Regions from separate parts of the Homo sapiens genome. Here region 2 is linked to region 1. Evidence: promoter capture Hi-C in 16 types of primary human blood cells and fetal thymus (Javierre and others, 2016). All regions are on one chromosome and are shown on one strand. The core of a region is centred on a gene start or on the middle of the fragment in contact, and the rest is flanking DNA. Distances in the headings are between cores, read along the strand shown. Region 1 holds the start of PTCSC3 (papillary thyroid carcinoma susceptibility candidate 3). Region 2 overlaps LOC105370453 (a long non-coding RNA gene).

Region 1 (3,831 bases), core at 814-3,313:
ATCTGTGGACAGTCCAAGGTGTTTTCAAGATCTTCTAACCTTTCAGTAGTCACTTTCCAAACTGTGTCTCCTGTATAAATCTTGTCGGGGTTTGGTTTCAGGCTTTGTTGGGGTGAGTCTAGAGTTGGTCTTTCTCAAGGGGCATATTCCTTAATCCTAATATGTGCACTTTGTGGTGTCTCAGAGCTGGATGTCAGGAGTTTTAACAAGATGTTAATAAATCTCTCCTCTCTGGCAGGGCCAGAACTCTGACATCTCTGCCACTGCTTTTCCCCAAGCACTGCTCAACCTCTAGAATCTTGGTTCCACTTTCAACTGCATAGCATCTGACATCTAGTAAAGCTCGGGTCGCCTCACACTGCACATGTACAATCCAACTCTCAGTCACTGATTTGCAGGAGATCCCTGCTGGATTCTGGGGTCCTCTCTCTCTACATAGCTCCCTCCATTCAGGCTCCATAGTTTCTACTTGCTTCAGTTACCCTGAACGCTGATGTCTGCCTCCCCAGCTCAACAGGACTGCCATGCTCTGCTCAGACTCCAGGTCTCTGTACCATGGTCAGGAAATTGTCTCCAGGCACAGAGCTGAGGCAATCATGTAGCTTACCTCATGCACTTCCCTTCTCTCAAGGAGCACAGCCTTACAGTGCTTGTTATCCACTGCCTGAAATCGGATGCTTCACATATTCTGTCCCGTTTTAGAGTAGTTTTGGGCTAGTACAGTATCAGTCATCCCATTATGGTTAGAGATGGAAGTTCAGGAGTCAGTATCTTGATTTCAACCCTACCTGAAATCACATTTCCACGTTGGGAAGAACATAAGAACCACAGCACTTTCTATGAAATGTCATAAAATAGGTCCCAGCCAGTTGCAAAAACTCAAAAGTTCATGTGGCTTAAAATCATATAGGCTATGCCTAGCAAAATGCCCGATATGCCCGACAGAAGCATGTAGTTTTATAAATTATTAAGTCATTTGCTGGATACAGAAAGAAAGGAGGAAGAACCCACTCCTTAGAGTTATGACTTATCTACCAATTAACTCTATGATCTTGGGCCTACAGCTATATTTAACTTGTCTTTGGGATCACTGGAGTAACTTCATTGAACACTAAGAAAACCTAGTTAGAAATTTGTATTTGTAATTTGCTTTGATTATGTCCTCTGAAAGATACTTTCCAAAATGAGACATGATTGTTGTGGTTTTCTTCCAGAATTAAACAGGTTTCCAAGTTGGCAACTGGGATGACAACTTGGGAGGGCTTCTCCCAATTTCAGAAAGAGCTTTATTCCCATAAGTGTATTAAATTCATGTAGAAAGAAAAGAACCAACAACAGAAGACAAATGTGGGTAGCAAATAGCAGTTTGGGAGTGTCAAGGAGGTGGGAGAAGGACTTTCAGTTAAGAAAACGATACAAATACATACATATGTACATAATGTCATGTGAGTGATTAAACTGTCCTTTCTCCAGAGAGCAATATTAAGGTTTTCAGAGGCCAAAACAGTATACTAATGCAATATAATTATACCTTTGGGTGAAACATCAAAGATGCAATGAGTGAGAGCTAAGGAGGCTACAACCCAGCTGAAATGCCATTATTTAATGAAAGACCAACAGATGCAACAAGAACACTTACCACCATGGTCTAGTGTTCCCTCTCAGTGCAGTCTTAAGCCTAATTCCTCTTCTGCTTGGCCTTTGACCTGGTCTCTCCAGTTGACTTTTCCACAACAGTCTTCACTCACAGGCAGAGTAGAAATGGGATGCAAGAAAAACAACAGGTCCCAGATCACTTTTTTCCTCTTTCTCTATTCCTCTTTCAGTTATGAATTCTGTTTTGCTTTGGAGAAGAAAAATGCGATCCCCCTGGATATTTTTTCTGGGCCATCACCAATTTATCCTGTTCCCCCTACCCACCCCTGCCAGTATTTTATACTTTACTCTTCAAAAACTTGAGATGTCTTGAGTACTGAGAAGTCTGAAGGAGTTTGTACTGGGGCCTGGCCTCCGATATTTCTGCTGGATAAGCTATTCCTTCATGCCTGACGGTGAATGTGCGTTATGGACTTGCCCAAGGAATTTCTGGAACTGGGCCTGCAAGTCTGTTTTAGATTAATGCAAATGGGATTTGGGGTAGCTGTGCCTACAAATATCCTGCAAAGATATTTTGTATCAAAATGACAATATTAAGATGAATCAACTCAATGAAGTCTTTGGGTACCGCAAAAATGTTGAATGTTGCATAATCACTTTCTGTTGATCTTTTTCTTATTACTATTATATGTGAATATACACGAGGCTTCCTGCCTTCATTGCCACAATTTAATGGGACAAACTGCAGGCACACAGTCCTTCCTCACTTTCTGTGCCCATTTCTCTGACATACATCATTGCTGAAGTCTGTTGTTTAAGCAGTGAAAAAAACATGTAATGTTTCATATAAGGATTATCCATAAAACCCCAAAGTCCTTAACTCTTCTGTCCTTCTGAGGCCATCCTTTTCTTTAACAGCCATCCCCTAAATTGTGGGAAGTCTAACGTGTTCTTCAATTTTCCAGCAGATTCTAGAGTTGAGACTTGGTTCTTCCCATTTTTCTCTTGCTCCTGACTTTTTCAATTTCTTCCCTCCATCTGCCCACTGCCTTTCCAGGCTGCCCCAGCCCATTCTAGTTTGCTTTGCTTCAAAATATGGACTCACCACCCTTTTCTTCATGATAATGCTCTTGTGATTAGCAGTGTGTTATTGTATTTTCTTGTTTTATATGAGCAATGTAGAGGAATGATAGCACAAAACATGGACTGACTTAAAATTGAATCCTGGTCACACTATTGCTAAAGTTTTCTGAAGTCTCCCCCTCGAGGAGTCCTTACTGGTGGCACTCTCAACTGGGTATTTCTGGGGCCTGCTCCCTGGACTCTAAGAAAGCTTTTTGTTTTCAATGTCTCTCTCTCATGGTCTGACCTTCCTCAGCCCTGCAGTGGTGGGTGGAACCCACTCCAAAATTCCTGTGACTTGATGGTGCAGAGAAACTTGGCTCTCTTTCAGGCTGACCCTCTCCTACCCAGACTCTCCTGGGGTCCACCCCCACACTCAGAAAAGCCCACTGAATGCTTTCCCAACAAAAGAGCAGTTTGCTCTTTAAGAGGAATTCTGCCACCCTCTTAGAGCAACCAGTTAAAATGACTGTCAGCTTACAATTTTTAGTTATAACCAGAGTTTCTCTAAGTTTGCAAAATGTTTTAAATAAAGCAATTTGACAGAAGATTTAATAAGGTGATAGACAAAAATGGGGGGTCCTGTTGTCAAGAGTGGTAATTCTAAATGAGGCAGGAAAAGTTATGGATAGAAGAAAAAGAGTTTGTGATTTACTGTTTCTTCCAGTGACCTCCGCAATGTGTGGAAGAGAATAGGTTAGACAGGCAGCAATAATTATCTCACTTGTAGCTTCTCAAAACCTGGAAAATAAGGCAAGGTCTGGTGGCTCATACCTGTAACCCAGTCCTTTAGGAGGCAAAGGCAGGAGGATCTCTTGAAGCCAGGAGTTCAAGACAAGGCTGGGTAACATCAAGAGACCCTCTCTCTACCAAAAATAAGAAATTGGTCAGGATAGTTGTGCGTGCCTGTAGTCCCAACTACCCCAGAGGCTGAGGTGGGAGGATCACCTGAGCCTGGGAGGTTGAGTCATGATTGCACTATTGCACTATTGCCTGGACAACAGAGCAAGACCCCATTTCAAAAAAAACAAACCTAGAAAAGAAAGCTATTCTAAATTGAAGTAACCAAGGAGCAGAGCCATAATCCACAGAGAGAGACACAGGTTCAACAGA
Region 2 (3,831 bases), core at 450-2,949, 360 kb after region 1:
TGAGGATGCAAGGAGAGAATTACAGCATATGTTTTTAAGAGGTTACCTTGTGCTTAATTGAAGTTATTCATTAAAGTCTTACAAACTATGTCTTAGGAGAACATAGAATTTCAGACCAATAGTAAGAAATGCATTAGCCTGGGCCTTTTGAGACCAAAGCTTGGGGAACACTCTTAGATAAAGGAATAGTCTTGGCTGGACCCTTCCTTCTGGCAAGATACATTCCAGGCATTTTGGCATTCATATTACAAGAGAAAGGTAATATATTCCCTATTTTTATAGATGAGGAAACCGAAGCCCAGAAAGGTTAAGTAAATTGCTGAAGATCACATGGCTAGTAAGTAGTAGAACTAAGTTTTGATTGTCAACATGTCATATTCCAAACCACAAGAGGAGTCATTGCCTAAATAATCAGACCTTTAAAGAATTGTCTACCTATCCCCCATTCAACATCTTGAAATTTTATAGTTATTTTGACAGCAAGATAGTTCAAATATCTACTCATCTGCTTGGGGAGTTTCTTTGTATTACTCCCTTGTCTAGCTCCGTAGATGTCAAACTTTAATGTGGACAAAAATTATTCTATCAAAGTATAATCTCAAATTTTGTTACCATTTCATCAGTTTTCTAGGGTACTTTTGGTATTATTAAATTTTACCTTAAGGAGTGTCATATTTTAAACGTAACAACTAATTGTTATGGAACCACACTGTATTATTTCCACTATATTCAATGCTTCTCTAATTTTCAACAAATAGTTTCCAGTCCTTTTGGAAAAATGTAGTAATAAGGAAAACACTGTGGGTAAGAGTATATTTACCAAGTTTATATGACTTTATTTTAGATTTCAGGGAGTGTGATTAATGAACCTGAAGAGTTTAAATTCTTGTTCGTAGTGAGGAAGATGACTTCTCAAAAGACAAAGTTAAGCATGGAAGTTTAATCTAAGACAGCACCTGTCAAACTTTGGAGTGCATAAGTATAACCCAAAAAGCTTGTTTTAAGTGTATATTCTTGAATGGGTGTTCTGAGTCCAGTAATAAAAAGTACATTATCTGACTATGCCTTTTTCAGATAATAATGATAAACTCTGGACAATACACACACACACACACACAAACACACACACAATTATTTGAAGGCACCAGAAAGTGGTCAAAAGAAGAAAGAAACTGAAGAAGTTTCTAGTCATAAATGGAACTACTCACTGGGTAAGAATTAAACTTACAAGGATATTCTACTGAGGACAATACTCATACCACAGAGCACAGGGCAAATAGAAGGTGAGCGAAAAAATCCAGTGTTTTTTATTTGAAGTGTGAGAGGATGGAGTCAGGGGCTGAAAGAATATCTGAAAGATTAAGGTAGGGAACTCCTAGAACAGAGGAATCTAGAGACTCTAAAATGTATTTTTCACAATGGCAGATTAAAATAAAAAATTACTAGGCATGTGAAGACATAGAAGATAATTTCCAAAATCAGAAGAGAATGCAGTCAATAGAAGCAAATCTCCAGGTTTGGAATTAGCAGAAAAGTACATTTAAAGAGGTATATATATATATATATTCGAAGACAAATTAAAATATGTCAATAACTGAACAAATTGGGGAACTCTATCAGAGAAATGGAAGCTATTTTAAAAATGAATTGAAAATTCTCTAAAGAGCTATAGCGTCTGAAATGGAAAAGAAAAATCTCTGGGATGAGCTGAAAGAAGATTGGCGACAGCAGAAGAGCCAACTTGAATATAGAATTTATCCAGTCTGAGAAGCAGAAGGAATAAAAATTAAAAACAAAAACAGCCCCAGTGATCTGTGGGACAATATCAAATGATCAGAAACATAAAGCAAATTTATTTTATGCCCTATTAGATCATTAAACACGCAGAGATCGGTCGGGCGCGGTGGCTCACTCCTGTAATCCCAACACTTTGGGAGGCTGAGGCGGGCGGATCACCTGAGGTCAGGCGTTCCAGACCAGCCTGGCCAACATGGCGAAACCCTGTCTCTACTAAAAATACAAAAATTAGCCGGGCATGATGGTGCATGTCTGTAATCCCAGCTACTCGGGAGGCTGAGGCAGGAGAATCGCTTGAACTCAGGAGGCGGAGGTTGCAGTGAGCAGAGATGGCGCCATTGCACTCTAGCCTGAATGACAAGAGTGAAACTCTGTCCCAAAAAAAGAAAAAAAACATGCAGAGATGAATTTTACATTTATAAATTATTTGTATCTTTCAGTGAATATTATTATTGTTGTTCGCATGGCCATCAAAATTTTTACCTCTGAATAAAGGCATTTCTTAACATTGGATTGGTTATAGCGTGGAAGAAATTCAATCACTCCACCAATGTTGTGGCAAATACCTCAAAAGCACGATCAGTCCTATCATTTATGGCTGCCTTGGTTAAGCTTCAAGAATAAAACTTAACACACTTCTAGACAATATACCTCAAAAGAGATTCTTCTACTTGCTTCACTAGCTAACCAAACAGAAATCATTATTGCTTGGCTTGGCTTCTCCTTCCAGCAGAAAATTAATCAACACCTTTGTTAAATATGCTGTATAGATTTCTCTTTTTTCTGGGGGAGTGGGGACACTGTTGTTAAAGTAAGTCATCTCACCTTGTTTTTCAGCTTCCTTTAGTTGAATCTCATATTTTTGAAATTCATGAAATGCTTCTTTCATCAGTTTGTCTAGATCTACTTTTTGTCTTGAAAGTCCAACTAAGAATTTTGTTTTCAGTATAACGGATATAACCATTAGTAACTCCACAGCGATCTGTCTGTATCTATATATTACTAGCTAGTTAATATTTCCCAACATATCTTAAACAAGAGAAAGAAATTCATAGAAGCCAGACACTCCTCCAATTATATTCTCTTCATATATGATTGTATCTCACAGGTTGGTTGCTATGGTATTTGATTCCTAGTTACCATGATACTATTAAGTGTTTGCTGCAGAATCTGCCATGCTTGGTCACAGAACTCAGTGAAAGTTCTATTAAAAGACTTATCAATTTGATGCCTGTTCAGTCAACGTCTTCCATTTTGTTGAGGCTGGAGAACCTCCAACAGAAGTTAAGCAAAGTTCAGTAGGTATTAAGCTGGGTCCTGCTTAAACTGGTGGACTTTATCAACCTGATGCATGCAACAGAAAGGAACAACTCTCATACATTTTAAAGCTGGGCTCATGGGTCCTTCCTGGTCATCATTAATGAGCCTTTATGTGAAAGTTAAAGCCCAAGCCCTAGAAGCACAGTATAGGTTGTACTTTATCTTGATATTCTGGTCAGCATCACATGATTTAATGGGAAAAAGACCTGTGGTTGGACTTTGAAACTGCAGCAATGTTGAGTTGACAGTTATTTCAAAATGATCCAGTTTATTCCACACAGTGTTTAATTATCAGATCTTGGAAGATTAATTATTTTAAGAGACTCGTAAACTGAGATAGACCTTAAGAAATTAGATAAAGAGGATATAACTCCATCAAGTGAGCTGGCAATGCCAAATTAGTGAATCTAATCATAAGCATCACAAGCTAAACTTAATGGTTGGCCTGGAAAGTCTCTGTTCCAGAAACCTCCAAGGTCACTTTGGACGTGAATACCACACTCCTACCATTGTACTCAGTTTACTGCCTTGACATTTGATTCTTATTTAATTTTTTTTTTTTTTATAGATGGAATCTCACCATGTTGCCAAGGCTGGTCTTGAACTCCTGTTGTTTTTCAACTTCCTTTAGTTGAATCTCATATTTTTGAAATTCATGAAAAATGAATTTCATGAATTCATGTTTTAATTCATTTCACTCAAGTGATCCTCCTG

What was found. The method cuts DNA at HindIII sites, captures the fragments that hold promoters and counts their contacts. A CHiCAGO score of 5 or more calls a contact.
Region 2: a contact is called between a fragment that was not itself captured here and the fragment with the promoter of PTCSC3 in region 1, in 1 of 17 cell types (M2 macrophages). The highest score is 5.7, in M2 macrophages.

Annotation. Positions count from the first base shown.
Region 1 is chr14:36,174,659-36,178,489 of GRCh38, forward strand. PTCSC3 (papillary thyroid carcinoma susceptibility candidate 3) reads right to left here and starts at 2,064. Exons shown (of 4, transcript NR_049735.3): 1 at 1,640-2,064. The HindIII fragment of the contact is 5,859 bases long and covers 1-2,927 here.
Region 2 is chr14:36,531,029-36,534,859 of GRCh38, forward strand. All of the region lies in intron 1 of LOC105370453 (a long non-coding RNA gene), which reads left to right. It also overlaps the pseudogene PHKBP2. Among named protein-coding and RNA genes, the nearest start is that of NKX2-1, 13 kb to the left of the region's middle. The HindIII fragment of the contact is 1,415 bases long and covers 993-2,407 here.